Regions from separate parts of the Homo sapiens genome. Here region 2 is linked to region 1. The links are contacts of gene promoters, found by promoter capture Hi-C in human tissues and cell types (Jung and others, 2019). All regions are on one chromosome and are shown on one strand. Each heading gives the region's core, a stretch centred on a gene start or on the middle of the fragment in contact. The rest is flanking DNA. Distances are from core to core; before and after follow the strand shown. Region 1 holds the start of DOK5 (docking protein 5). Region 2 overlaps DOK5 (docking protein 5).

Region 1 (7,775 bases), core at 3,433-5,932:
ACCTCCTATCTCATCCTGTGACTTAGAATGCCTTAACTGTCTGGGAATGTAGCCCAGTAGGTTTCAGTCTTGTTTTACCCAGCTCCTATTCAAGATGGAGTTGCTCTGGTTCACACGCCTCTGACAGCTTCAGCAGCCAGGTGACATGACCTTTCTTACATTTCCAAAGGAACACTTTACTGTATTGAGAAGGCACTAGCGGGAGCAAGAGTGTAGGCAGGAAGTCAAATGAGAAGACTGTTGCAATGTTACAGGGAGGAGATGAGGAGGGTTCGGACCAGGGTCGTAGCAGTGGATAGCGTGAGGTGACAGCCGGATTCTAGATATATTTCAAAGATACAGCCCACAAGATCTCCTGATGGATTGCCTGTAGGGGTGGGAGATGAGGGGAGAAGAGTGAAATGACACCAAGGTTCGCTTGTGATTTTTACCTTCGCAACCAAAATGCTGGGACCTCTAGTGGCTAAGATGGAGAGGACTCTAGGAGCAGCAGGTCTGTGAGTCATCCAAGTGGAGATGTGGGATAGACAGGAGAATTTACATGAGTGGAGGTCAGAAAAGAGGTCCAAGCTGCTAAGTCCTTGGTAGACAAGAGCACAGAAATGTCACTTAAAGGCAAGTAACTGAGGGATTGTGCGTAGATAAATAAACCCGAGTTTCCGTTCTGAAACTTGCACTGTGGGCAAGCCATGACAATGATTGATTGGAAAATCATCTCCATTGCAAGGAAAGAAACGAAGTGAGAATTGTTATATGATGCTATCTAAGTCACACATTCAGCAGGTTAATGTTGTACAAATTGCCTGATTTGCCTCTCCCCTAAAAAGAAATTTTTAGTGCATTTAATCGATTACTCAAATAATTATGGACAGCTGCTCCCCTCCTTCCCCCAGCCCCTCAAATAGTAACGTCGACATTCCTGAACAAATTCAGTACCCAGGGCACAGCTGGAGACCTCCAGGAAACAATGGGGATTAAGCTGGGGAATACAGATGTGAAGATACTGAAACTTTTGAGTTAAATGAATTATATTTCATTAAGCTTTTTGATGTCTAAAGAAGAGAATAAATCTATACATATTTGATTGCTTAATCATTTAAACTCTTTAGGATTTCAAATGAAGGTGACCACTTATCTGTGACCCATTTGAATGGGAATGTTTTTAGAATGTTTCCTGTCCTGTTAAAAAATCACATATATAAATATACGTATATTATATATTATACAATATGTACATAGGTTGTATGTATATATTTATTCCTATGTATAAAAATACACACACATACACATATATGTATATAATTTGTAAAAGTTTCATCCATTGAAAAAATCTGGAGCTGCATAAACATTTATGCCTTTGTACACTTCTACATAGAAAGAGAAGGAAATAGATAATTCCTATATCCGTCTACCAATCCTAACTCATCTTTGATTAAAGAAAATGATACAAGCAGAATCAATGTTCTAGACTTTCATTGCATTTTCACAAATATCTTCTTTAATGCTCCCAAGAACATTAAATAGTGTTCATTGTACAGACTAGGAAACTGAGGCCAAGAAAGGTCAAAGGTCAACAAGCAATAGAAGCAGAATGCGTTCCCTTCTCCTCTTTCTCCAAATCTGAAGAAGCATTTATTCCTTGGCACCAGGAACAGCTGCTTACCATGAAATGTTTTTGTATTTAATTATAAACCGTCCCAAACATGGTCTGGATTCCATTAATAAATGCTGTTGTATTAGTTCCTAAAGGTTATAAATGGCAAGACCATCCATGCACTATATAGTTCAGCACATATTTCAACATGAACTTACCAAGTGTCTACTCTGTGCTAGACAAAATAAATGCCCTACCTCTCTTTGAGACTGGCACATATTCCTAGAAGATACATGTCGCATGCTGTTCTAGACTATATGTAGCCTAGATTAATACCGCTAACATTCCTTACTGTGGACATAGGGTCCCCATGCCAATTCCGTACAGCATCCTTCACCAATATTTGCAGCCTCCATTAAAACTTTGGTTTGCACTGTGTTCTGGCAACTATGTAATCAGCCTCTTTTGTAAATCATACCATAAGAATATTTTAAAAATTAACTGGTGAGAAAACCAATGCTAACAAATAAGACCAGATTTACTTGATCATATTTTTGACCTTTTCTCTCCATGAGCAATAACCATAATTCAATAGATATTCTGAAGTCTGAACGTGAACACAGACAAAAAGAATAAATCTTGAGAAAGTATACTGCTCATTAGCATCCAAAATGCTGTAAAACATAAAACAAATACAAACTAAATATTTCTGTTCCTTCTGCTTCAAATATCTGTCCATAAATGTTGGCACACACATAGGGCTATGTTGTGTCAATTGTAATAATCTAGAAAAAATAATCTCAGTTACCACAAACAAGAAAGTGATGGTAACCAGTTTTTCAAATAAATTACCATGTGTCACAATTTGGCATAAACTCTGATCCTTATGAATAATTCATATTTTGTGCATTAATAATGCATGTCCTCTTCCCATTGGAATGCTCCCTAACACAGAATGGATGTCTCATACCAATTCCTTCCATTGACATGATGGAGTAAAGCTAAATTAGAATGCTGGGTTTTTTTTTTTTTTAACTTAACTCCCCTTAAAATTGTAACACTTGGCCAGCCTATAAGCATACCAAAAATAGAAAGTTCCCATTATTGTTTGCCCCTTACATGGGAGTCACTCAGTAAAGTACCCCCAACAATGGGTGCTCTTGAAGATGAGAATATTTGCATAGCAGAAAAGAAAACCAAGGAAACTTTGGCAGAGCTGATGGAAATGGTGAATTCTGTTACATTTCTCCCTAATTACATATGTATATATTCACAATAACACAGGACATAATCGCTAAAACATGGTCACCAGCAGGGGAGAAAAAGAAAAGAAAAAGACCAAAACGAATTAGGCAAGAGTTTTATAATAATTGCGGATGTTCCTCCCCACAGGGCTTCCCTCCCTAGCTGAGTTTACTACTGTGAAATTTCTTTTCAGTTTTCAGTAAAAGTATCTGGCACATTAAAACAGTCCAAAGACCAAGTAAGAGAAAGATGCCAAATGACACATATTTCTAAAGAAAGCTATTCAATTTACCACTCATTATCAATGGCGGCATTCCACACGATTACTGACATTATACTTATTTCAGGCATTACACCAAAGGATATTTTCTCCCCCCGCCCCCGCCACCTCTCCACCCCCACTTTTCACCCCTTATGTCCAAACGCACAGGATCAACTAAAACAGCGACAACACTTGATAGGAGGCAAAGAGAAATGAGGGACCTAGTTTGAAATTTTTAGGAAATAAAAAAATCGTTCCAGTATCTTCCCTCTCCCTCAAGAATTCTTCCACCATCATTCAGTCCCAAGGAGAGGAAGGGTAGGTTCTCTTTTGAAGCCTCCTCCAGCGAAGAGCCAAGAGAGAAAGGGGCGAAAGAGAGGGAGTTTTAAGGAAGGAGCTAGCCTGTGTCAACATCTGTCCCAAGTGCCCTAAGATTCATTCATTCTTCCTTTCAGGACATATGTAGGGAGCACTTGCGCTATGCCAGGTATCAGGTTCCACGTAAATAACCCTTCCGTGGACCTCCAGGGTGTATTCCAGCAACAGAAATCCACCACCCCGGCTTCGAACCACGGAAAATCCAGATTCAAGTATCTACCCAAGTTGGCCCCGACCAGAGGCCAGCCCGCACCGCCTTTGACACGACACCTGGGACAGAGGTGGGGGGATCCAAAGACACCTTACGCTTGGCAGAAATCTCTCCCTGGGGTCAGAGGGTTCGTGACCTCGTTCACACCGAGTATGCGTGTCCTCTTTCTCAACCAGCCGATCCATCCCCCGGAAAAGTTAAGTTGGCGGCGAGTGGGAAAAGAGGGGAACCGGGGGCATCCGGCAGGCACCCCCGCCCGGGCTTCTCAGCTCCAACTTCCATGGCTACCGAGAAATATTTATTTCGAGTAGATGGGCTCCAGGGGCTACTGAAGCCCAACACGCGGCCACCATCAGAAAGCCAAGTCATCCAAGAGATAAAGATAGATCCATTACATACCTAGACGCTGGCCTTACAGTGACAGCCCCGGAGACGCGGGTTTCGGCTGAGAAAGCCACCGCGCAATTCTCCGGCGCGCGGCCGGGGACTCTCCGTCCACCCTCCAGGGATGCTGGCTCAAGAGAGAGACAATCGAACCGGCGAACAGCAACACGGAGAGGATCGATACTCACCCCGAGGCGTCTGCTCCGGATCCTCACGTACCCTTGCTTCACTATGTCATTAAAATTGGAAGCCATCCCAGACAGCCGGTGACCCCCCCTTTACCCAAGAGCGCGCACCCGAAGTGGCTCTGGGGAGGGTGGAGGGCAGGGTCAAGACAAGCAGTCGGTGGGAGAAAGTTGGAGAGGTGAAGCTGCTTCGGCGGCGCTGGGCGAGGCTTTAGAAGGCGCACATCACTTTCTCTGTCCCCCCAACCCTGACAGTGGGCGGCCGGCTTGCAGCCACTTTCGGGGAGCGCAGAGCGCGGCGCGGGGAGGCGAGGCTGGAGCGCCGGCGTCAGCTGACTCCGCGGCCGGCCTGCCAGGAGGAGGAGCGGCGGCGGCTGAGGGATCCAGCCCTGCCTCCTCCCGGCCGAGAAGGAGGAGAAGAAGGAGGAGGAGGAGGAGGAAGGAGGAGGAGGAAAGAGGAGGAAGGGGTGGGGGGCTAAGAGGAGGAGCCGCGCGAGTCCCAGCACTGGGCTGCGGCCACCCGTGAGCAGCCGCCCTGGAACGCTCCCCGCGCCTCCCACCCACCTTTCCCTCCCCGCTTCCCCTTCCGATCCCTCCCCTCCTGGCGGACCCGGAGCGTGCCCCCGCCACCCCCGCACCTCGCCCACAGCCTACTGAGATAGCGCTCGCTCTCCTCGCTCCAATGACTTATTTTAGGAGGAGAGGAAATTTCACTTTTTTCCAGCCGCCGCCCACCCCGCCTCCCCCTTCAGCCCCTGCCCTTTCCCCGAGAAGGGCCGATTTTGCGTGTGTGTCTGGGGAGATGGTGTTGCCGCGGCTCGCCTTGACCTTGGCATCTGAGGAGAGGGATATTGTCACCGCTTAAGCCAAATGCTTCCTTGGGTTTCCTTGTGTCAGGGACCTAGCCCTCGCTGGTATCATTTGCCACAGTTTCCCTGTTTCAGCCTCTTTCCCGCCGGAATGTGTTTCCCAGGGGGCTGAGACTTGGCCTCATCACTGTCTGTCCCCAAAGCCTGACCCCAGAGCAAGTGCTCAGTAAATCCTTGTGGTTATCAAGATGGCCACCTAGGTGCCAGGCACTCTCCAAGCCTTTTGCATGGATTGACTCATTCAAACTCCCCTGCACTTTTTGAGGTAGGTGCCCTGTTAATGTATACACCAGGCCCATATTTAATTAAGCCTCCTTAGCCTGGCAATAGAGCTCTCATTGCCATTATGAGATACTGCCTATACAATAAGATGAAGAAGGGGACTGAATTTCACACTCACCTGCCCCTGACTGCATTACCTCCCTAAAGCATACTTGATTGATAATTGCTAACACACATTGAGCACCAGTGTGCTGGGCATTGTGCTAATCTTGTTAAGGGAATAATGAATTAGGCACCAGCATCCACATTTTACAGACTTGCTAAGGTCTCACAGCTGGCCACTATCAGAGCTAGGATTGAAGGGAGGTGTGTGTAGTGCCCAGCTCTGCTCCTAAACATTCTCCTATTCCTCTTCTGAAGAGAGGATCTCACAGAAAGAGAGGTTACTAGTTGATTTCCAAGGAAGATCTTTCTAATCATTTGCACTATTCACAAAGGCAAAGATAATCATCAGAAATTAGACAAAAATTCTTACTCACTGGGAAGCGACAAAGCTAAAGCTAGAGATCACTGCTCAGAGCCATTGAGAAGAGGATTCAGTTAGTAGTGGATTGTTTGACCTGATGACATCCACAGGTCTTTCAACTCTAAGACGATATGAATCTTCCCATTCTCACTGGGAACATTAGCTTTTAGTCACCTTGGCTTGATGAGTTTCAGTTAAAGAACAGAAACCTCCAAGAATGTGTCATAGGAGAACCGAGACTAAATGGGGACAATCAAAAAGGAGATATTCTGGCAGGGAGAACTATTTTTGCTACATAGTAAACCATCTGTCTTCATGTTGCCATTCTATGGAAAATGATGTTTTAATTTTAAATCTCTCACCAAAAGAGATGAAATGGTAAAATCATTTGGAGAGCTCCTTTTGAAGGATTGGAACTTAAAAAAAAAAATGCTGCCCATGGTTGCTGTAAAATAGAGGTGTTCATGGAAGGCATTTATCTAACACATCATTTATAGACCAAGTCCACAGTATTATAGAAACAAAAAATGAAGAAATTAAGGCATAAGGAGCTTGAAATGAAGGGCCCACAATAACGGAAATAATTACTGACAAAAACTGAAGGCGAGAAATCCATCCCTTGATAGTTAATGCTGACTATAATCAACATCCATAGATAATTTAACTGGAGCTGAGGAAACTAGAATCAAACCAGAAAATATCAAACTAGACGTGAAGGAACAAATGATTTCTTTTTTAAATTGCAAGACTGAATCCAATATATGGTTTTGTTTGGTGAAATCCAATTGACATACATGCAAAACGTACAGACTGTGATATACTATTCATAGGACATTTACACTTGTCCAAATTGTGCAATACAAGCCCTGGCAGCAAGAGCAAAGAGACTGGGCACAGTGGCTTACGCCTGTAATCCCTGTAATTTTTTGGGAGGCCGAGGTGGGTGGATCACCTGAGGTTGGGAGTTCGAGACCAGCCTGACCAACATGGAGAAACCCCGTTTCTACCAAAAATACAAAATTAGCTATGTGTGGTGGTGCGTGCCTGTAATCCCAGCTACCTGGAAGGCTGAAGCAGGAGAATCACTTGAACCTGGGAGGTGGAGGTGAGCCAAGATTGCACCATTGCACTTCAGCCTGGGCAACAAGATCGAAACTCTGTCTCAAAAAAAAAAAAAAAAAAAAAAAACATTAAAAAAAGAAAAAGAAATGGAAAAGAACCATTCACAGAGGTAGGCAATGTAAGGGGTGCTTATAGAGTTCTACAGTGCACAACTTGCCTAACCATATGCTGCCGAACAAATATACTATCACACATGATTTAGTTTTACTGGAAATGTCTGACAAGAAAAAATACTATTTCGTTCCGTGTTTTGAACTCAATTTTTGAATATTTAGAGCTTCTTATTTGTAGTATGCATTTCTGTTTGTTTCCTCAGCATCCAGAGTTTGTTCTTCCCATAGTAGTCACCATTTTCACTGAGTGTACTCACCCCTGTTTCCAGCTCACGTGTGCAGCCCTGTCCATGGCCTTTCTTTGGACAACTAGTGGTTGGTGATTGGTTCAGATATGGGCACATGACCTAAGCTGGCCAATTAATAATGAATTGGGTTACTTTTACTGAATACTGGGAGGAAGACTCACACTCCAGCTGAAATGGAATCTGGATGGAAGAGGCCCAGGAGCTGCTGGCACAAATGGTGAAACCCCAGGGGAGGGCTTATCGAAGAGTGAAGGCCACGCTAAAGGAGCAGAACCAAGACATAAAGAGAAGCAAACCAGATCCCGACGATCTGATTTGAACCCCTCTTCCAGCACCCCAGGAAGTTATTTAAGTAGATTTGAAGATTTTGTAACAATTAGACCCCAAAATATAATGATTTAAGATGCATAAAAGTT
Region 2 (7,775 bases), core at 2,517-5,016, 43 kb before region 1:
CAGAAAACAACTTTGGGCCAGGCGCGGTGGCTCACACCTGTAATCCCAGCACTTTGGGAGGCCGAGGTAAGTGGATCACTTGAGGTCAGGATTTCAAGACCAGCCTGGCCGACATGGTGAAACCCTGTCTCTACTAAAAATACAAAAATAAGCCAGGTAGTGGACGCCTGTAATCCCAGCTACTTACGAAGCTGAGGCAGGAGAGTTGCTTGAACCCGGGAGACAGAGGTTGCAGTGAGCCAAGATCACACCACTGCACTCCAGCCTGGACAACAGAGCGAGGCTCTGTCTCAAAAAAAAAAAAAAAGAAAGAAAGAAAAAGAAAAAGAAAACAACTTTGTTTTCTCTCCTTCTCTGTCTCCGACCCTCATGGAGCGTGTTTTCACTCATGTCTGCCTCTACCTATGGTCTTCCTCCATGAAGTATTGCATTAATTAATGTCCAATTTAATTCACGTAAGTAATTCATTCAGTAAGTACTGATTGAGTGTCTATGGCAAGCTTGTCTAACCTGCGACCCATGGTCTACATGCAGCCCAGGATGGCTTTAAATGCCGCCCAACACAAATTCGTAAACTTTCTTAAAACATTATGAGATCTTTATGTGCTTTTTTTTAAAGCTCATCAGCTATCGTTAGTGTTGGTGTGTTTTAGGTGTGGCCCAAGACAATTCTTCCAATGTGGCCCAGGGAAGACAAAAGATCAGACACCCCTGGTCTGTGGTGTATTAGGCACTGCTTGGGGTGCTAAATGAGACCAGTAATAAAACTGGCAAAAGTGACTTGTTTCTGTAGAGCTAAGTTCTTGCAAGTGGGGACAGACAACACCCAAGAACAATATGAAGCAGTTTGGCTGGTGTGATATAACAAGAAACATGTATTTCATCTTTGTCCCTGGTTCCAGCACAGAGACTCCCAAACCCCTGGAATGTCCTGAGTGACAAAAGTGACTGGAATTTTAGGAGTGTCTCTTGTGATTCAAAACTAGCCCCTTTCAACCAGTCTTGAGTTTATGATAATGAGGTGACTCTCAACTGGGCAGAAGAACCAACGTTGTGATTGGAGAGTTGGAACTTTCAGTCCCAACCCCAGCTGGAGAGGAGCTAAAGATAGAGCTAATCACCAATGTCCAATGATTCAATTAATCATGCCTAAGTAATGAAATCTTCATAAAAGCACCTAGATGACAAGATCTGGGGAGCTTCCAGACTGGTGAACACACTGAGATCCTGGGAGGATGGCATCCCTCAAGAGGACACAGAAGCTCCTCACATCACACCCCATACCATATACATTTCTTTTATGCCTGTTCCTGAGTCGAATCCTTTATAATAATCCAGTAAATATAAGTAAAGTGTTTTCTTGAGTTCTGTGAGTTGTTCTAGTGAATTATGAAACCTGAGAATGGGAACCTATAAATTTCTAGTCTGCTAAACAGGTGTGGGTAGGCTGGGACCCCCTTGTGGTTGGCGTCTGAAGTAGGGACAGTCTTGTGGGATTGAGCCTTTAACCAGCGGGATCTCTACAAGCTCCAGGAGTTAGTACCAGCATTGAATTAACTTGCTGAGCACTAATTATTATTGGAGAATTGGTATGGAAAAAGAGAACAGCAAATGTGATGTCAGAAGTCATGTCATTAAAAAAAGGATACCACAGCTGGTGAAAAGTGACATGATACCAGATAACAGATGGTAAGTGCCATGAGGGAGAGAGGTGCTGCCTCGAAGGTTGCTCACAGGTCCCTCAAGCAGGCACCATTCAACCAGAAGGCCAGGTGATGTAAGGGAGCAAGCCGAGCCACAAGCAGGGAAAGATCATTCTTAGGAGAGGGTAAGTGCAAAGACCCTGGGGCAAGTGTGTCTACCATAATTAAGAAAAAGCAAGTCAGCTTACAGAGTAAAGGGAAGGGTGATAGAAGACCACATCACAGAAGGATGCAGACACACAATCATGGGAAACTTCAGAGGCCATGAAGGACTCTGTATTTTATTATACGTAAAATATAAGACATGTAGGTTTTTTTGTTGTTTTTTGTTGGTTTGTTTTGAGACAGGGTTTTGCTTTGTTGCTTAGACTGGAGTGCAGTGGCATGATCATAGCTCACTGCTGACTCAACCTCCTGGGCTCAAGCAAGTCCTCCTGCTTCAGTCTTTCCAAGTAGCTAGGACTATAAGCACACACCACCACACCCAGATAATTTTTTATTATTATTTTTAGTAGAGATGAGATCTTGCTGTGTTGCCCAGAGTGGTCTTAAACTCCTGAGCTCAAAAAATCCTCCTGCCTTCACCTCCCAAAGTGCTGGGATTATGGGTATGAGCCACCTTACCTGGCCAAGACTTGCAGAATTTTGAGCAGAGGAGTGGTATGATCTTACAGTCTCAAAAATCACCTCAATCAAAAATGGGCAGGGGTAGAAAAGGAAACAAGTTAGAAGGTGATTGCAATAGCCCAGGTGATTATATATGAAATCTTGACCTAGAGTGGAAACAACAGGGGTATCAATCACTATATCCAGATGTGTTTTGAACACAGAGCTAATGGAATTTGATAAGGGGCTTAGAATTTGCTAATAAAATGTGAGAAAAAGAGAGAACTCAAGAGTGACTTAAGGTTGATAACCTAAGCAAGTGGAAGATTGGAGATGTCGTTTACTGAGATGACAAGGACTTACGGGGAGGGTTTAGGGGGCAGGATTAGGAGTGTTCTACTGAGTTGCCTTTGGTTCAATCAACTGTGGCAAGGATGTGGAGGGGCCCAATAACATAAGCATTGCAACAAGAGTTCAAATGTTCAGTGAAGCTGCAGGTCAAGGAGCAGTGGTGGGCAGGTATGTGCACCATAGAGGTTAAAACACACTTGGATGTCGAAGACCAAAACATTAAGACAACAGGATTCTCTTTTGAGAATTTGAAATGAGGTGTTACTAAAAGCCTGGAGTCAAATTTGCCACAGATAATCTACAATTTCTAATGCATCACATCTCCTTGAAGCTTAAAGAAGTATGAATTCAAGGATAAAATAAGACAAATTGGGTATCTCATAGCATAGAGCCAAATTCACAAACATAGTTATTGAATGCATCATTCTCTTTTGAATGAATTTGTATGGCATCATATTTAAACAGCTTATTTCTCTTTCTTTACTGAATCATAAGATAATGATATTATAGACTTTAGTGATATTTGTTTAAAAATACAAGCTAGTTATTTGAAAAAAATGAATATAAGCCTTACTCAAACTTGAAACTTTGACCTAAATGATGAAACTATTTTTGCTATTCTGTAGAAATTTTAAAAATCTTGGCATTCCCTCATCTTCAGTGATATGGGCAATAGTAACTTTTGCATCCTTATAGAGGAGAATAAACCATTTCATCATTTCAGAATGGTTTTAAATTTTAAAGGCAATAATAGAATCAATAACTATTATAATTTATAAGTTAAAAAAGAAATAGATCTAATACCAATTAAATATCTAATAGTTATTTAGCATTTACTATGGAACAGATGCTAAATATTAAACATACATCATGTCCCTTTTAATCTTTATTACACCTGAATTCTTGATACAAGATAACGCAGTTTAAACTACTAGAGCACAATAAAACATTAACTGAGACACAATATATATTAAAAGTATTAAAGTTAATCAAACTTATGTTGGAGCATTAGGTGATCCTGGACATGTTAAGCAACTCCACAAGCCTCAACTTCTCATTGAAAATAGGGATTATGTAAAAGTGCTCCTATTTCTTCACATCCTCTCCAGCACCTGTTGTTTCCTGACTTTTTAATGATCGCCATTCTAACTGGTGTGAGATGGTATCTCATTGTGGTTTTGATTTGCATCTCTCTGACGGCCAGTGATGATGAGCATTTTTTCATGTGTCTTTTGGCTGCATAAATGCCTTCCTTTCAGAAGTGTCTGTTCATAACCTTCGCCCACTTGTTGATGGAGTTGTTTGTTTTTTCTTGTAAATTTGTTTGAGTTCATTGTAGATTCTGGATATTAGCCCTTCATTACATGAGTAGATTGCAAAAATTTTCTCCCATTTTGTAGGTTGCCTCTTCACTCTGATGGTAGTTTGTTGGTGGTTCTGTAAACTAGTTCAACCATTGTGGAAGTCAGTGTGGCGATTCCTCAGGGATCTAGAACTAGAAATACCATTTGACTCAGCCATCCCATTATTGGGTATATACCCAAAGGATTATAAAGCATGCTGCTATAAAGACACATGCACATGTATGTTTATTGCGGCACTATTCACAATAGCAAAGACTTGGAACCAACCCAAATGTCCAACAATGATAGACTGGATTAAGAAAATGTGGCACATATACACCATGGAATACTATGCAGCCATAAAAAAGGATGAGTTCATGTCCCTTGTAGGGACATGGATGAAGCTGGAAACCATCATTCTCAGCAAACTATCACAAGGACAAAAAACCAAACACCACATGTTCTCACTCATAGGTGGGAATTGAACAATGAGAACACATGGACACAGGAAGGGGAACATCACACACTGGGTCCTGTTGTGGGGTGGGGGGAAGGGGGAGGGATAACGTTAGGAGATATACCTAATGTTAAATGACGAGTTAATGGGTGCAGCACACCAACATGGCACATGTATATATATGTAACAAACTTGCATGTTGTGCACATGTACCCTAAAACTTAAAGTATAATAAAAAAGAAAAAAGAAAATAGGGATTATGATAGTAGCTACCAGAGGGGGCAACTGAGAATGCTATGAGGTGATGCATGTAGAGTACTCAGCACAGTACTGGCAAGAAGGAAGGGCTTAATAACTGTAAGGCTGAGTCCATTTGGGCCTCTATAACAAAACATCATAAACTGGATGGCTTATAAACAACAGAAATTTATTGCTCATCTCTGGAGGCTGAGAAGTCCAAGATCAAGGCACTGGCAAGTTCAGCATCTGGTGAGGGCCCATTTCATGGTCCATAGACAGCAATCTTTTAGCTGTGTTCTCACATGATGAAAAGATAAATGACTACCTGGGGGTCTGTTTTGTAAAAGCACTACTCCTATTTGTGATTCATGACTTCATCACCTCCCAAAGGCCCCATCTCCTAATACCAAATCCTTGGGGGTTAGGATTTCCACATTTAAATTTGGAGCGGGGGGTGCATAAATATTCCAGCCACTGCAGAGACACTATCATCACCACCAACACTATCATCATCACTTTATCATCTCCACCAGCACCTTCATCGTTATTATAAAGCCTATAAAAGAAAACATTATTATTTTATTTTACTAATAAGGAAACTAACAGAGAAATATTAAACAAATCACCCAAAGCCACCCAGCTTACAAATGGCAAAGTCAGCCTTTAAACTAAAACATATGAAACCTCAAAGACTGTATAATTCAAATTGCGTGACTCCAGCATACACAGTGGTTAGGCTACAATTTTATCCCATGTTGCCTACATCATGATGCTTTAGTTTTATTTCAAAATTTAAGCTTGTTATAAAACTTCTGTAAAATAGCATCTGATTCTTGTGAGAATCCATACCTATGCCGATTATTCAGATGAAGAAAATGAAGCTAAGCTAACCCAAATAGGTTAACCAATTGCTGATAAATCTTGGCAAGAGACAAGAAGGGGTTAGAACTCATGTATATGAAACTCAGGGGCATGACACTGCACACAGGGTGGGAAGTTATATTTGAATCAAATCAGCTCTGCTAATTCCTTAGGGATTTTGCACACAACATTATTTTCAAACTCTCAAATAAAAAAGGGAATGAAAGGATTACTATAGAACAAAAACATCAACCCGAGATATGTTGCATTTAAAAGCAATAAGCATGGCTTTCAAGGAACTCGGTAACACGAGGGACTCTGAGCCCAGGAGACAGTTTGTAGAAACAAAATTGCTTCTGAGAAAAACCTGTTTTAAATTCAGTGTTGCAGAATAAATGCATAGATATTAAAGACTTAATTGCTAGTTTAGGAGCAGGTCTACCCCCTAGACTGTAAATTCTTTGAGGGCAAGAGCTAAATTCAACTTCTATATTCTCAGGTCTAGCAAAAAGCTTGACTTTTAGTACCTATTTAGTAGTTGAGTCAATGAGTTAATGTTAATTTTTACATCGTATATTGCTAGGCTATATCTTGGGTCAGTGTAAAGCACACATCTGGGGTCAAACTGTCAGAGTTGGATTCCCATCACCATCATTTAGAGGGACCTGAATTTTGGGGAGCATGAGCACTTAGCACAGGATGTTATAAGGGGAACACACAGTTCAGATATGATAGCATACTCTACCCACAACCCAAGGAAGGCAAAATGCCCTTAAAGCTAGAGTATTTACAAAGGGTTAAATTTAAATTATTTTCTTCTCTCACTATGCCTTTCCATCTGTTGTAAAAGCCTCTTTAAGTCAGGCAGAGCTACAGAATACATATACACATACTATCTGCTAAGAGGCAATCATTTCAACAACACTGCTCAGTTTTTTTTAGACTGAATTAGAACCCCAATTTGAATAAAACAACCCCCACATCATTTTCAAATTCATATTTTTTTCTTACTGTAATTAAATATGTATCTGTAGCTGACAATGATTTCTCCCTATGCATATTTAAACATAGTTTCTCTTCCCACTATAACTGGATTATATAACCAGATACACTTCTGCCCACTTGAGGAATTATATACGGGGAAATGAGAATATGGGACCCAGATTCTGAGATGCTTGTCTATCTTTAGCCTAAGGGTACACGACACACTGCAAGTGAACATTTTACTATTATACACATTTCTCCTTTTGCTTTCCCTGTCCACTTTATGAGTCAGAAGTAACCAGAGCCAGAAAGAGATGGATCGAATCAGGGACTGCTGTCAGCTAATGCCTTCCCCAATTACTGCAGCATCACAGAATTGCATAAAAGCATACGTTGAACATTCATGCCATCACCTGGCAAAACCGGCTGATGGCCAGTAATCTTATTTATTATTAGTCTACGTTTCTGGGTAGCTAGCATCTCCCCAGGAGGTACAAAACCCATCTTTGCGTACTCTCTTTAGTTGGACTATGCCACTTTTCATTGGTAACCAATACAAAAAAATGATTTTCTTCTTGGTAAACAAATTAACTCTCTGAAATGTATTAATCAAGAGAGAACACAAGCTCAAACAAATTTGCATCTGAACTGACATTGGTAGGATGTTCCCTGTTTTAAGATCTCAAAGTAAGGATTTAGTAATGAATAGCAACAAGATGTACTGTGGTAGACAAGAAAATGTCCTCCCAGAGATATCTACGTCCTTGGCTTATAAAATCTCCATGTCCTCACAAAACTCAGCAAAGTTCAACATTGAGATAATCTACAAATTAGTTACAAACCTGGACTGACTCAGGAAAATAAATGGTGGTTTCAATTAGATTTTCATCTTGTTCATTGGTTGTTTCCCACTAGGTTATAAGAAGCAGAATTAAGAAGAGAAATAATTCAGTTATAAAATCAGTCATAACTGGCCGGGCACGGTGGCTCATGCCTGTAATCCAGCACTTTGGGAGGCCGAGGCGGGTTGGATGGCCTGAGGTCAGGAATTCAAGACCAGCCTGGCCAACATAGTGAAACCCCCGTATCTACTAAAAATAGGAAAATTTAGCTGGGTGTGGTGGCGGGCGCCTGTAATCCCAGCTACTCGGGAGGCTAAGGCAGGAGAATTGCTTGAACCTGGGAGGCGGAGATTACAGTGAGTCAAGATCGCACCATTGCACTCCAGCC

Evidence for each region. The method cuts DNA at HindIII sites, captures the fragments that hold promoters and counts their contacts. A contact is called where the count stands out against the background at its distance.
Region 2: a fragment that was not itself captured here is called in contact with the fragment with the promoter of DOK5 in region 1 in 1 of the 25 tissues and cell types used here (H1 embryonic stem cells).

The regions. Positions count from the first base shown.
Region 1 is chr20:54,472,500-54,480,274 of GRCh38, reverse strand. It overlaps DOK5 (docking protein 5), which reads right to left and starts at 4,682. Exons shown (of 8, transcript NM_018431.5): 1 at 4,263-4,682. The coding sequence starts at 4,328. The HindIII fragment of the contact is 11,986 bases long and covers 1-7,775 here.
Region 2 is chr20:54,515,055-54,522,829 of GRCh38, reverse strand. All of the region lies in intron 1 of DOK5 (docking protein 5), which reads right to left. Among named protein-coding and RNA genes, the nearest start is that of DOK5, 43 kb to the right of the region's middle. The HindIII fragment of the contact is 4,039 bases long and covers 1,747-5,785 here.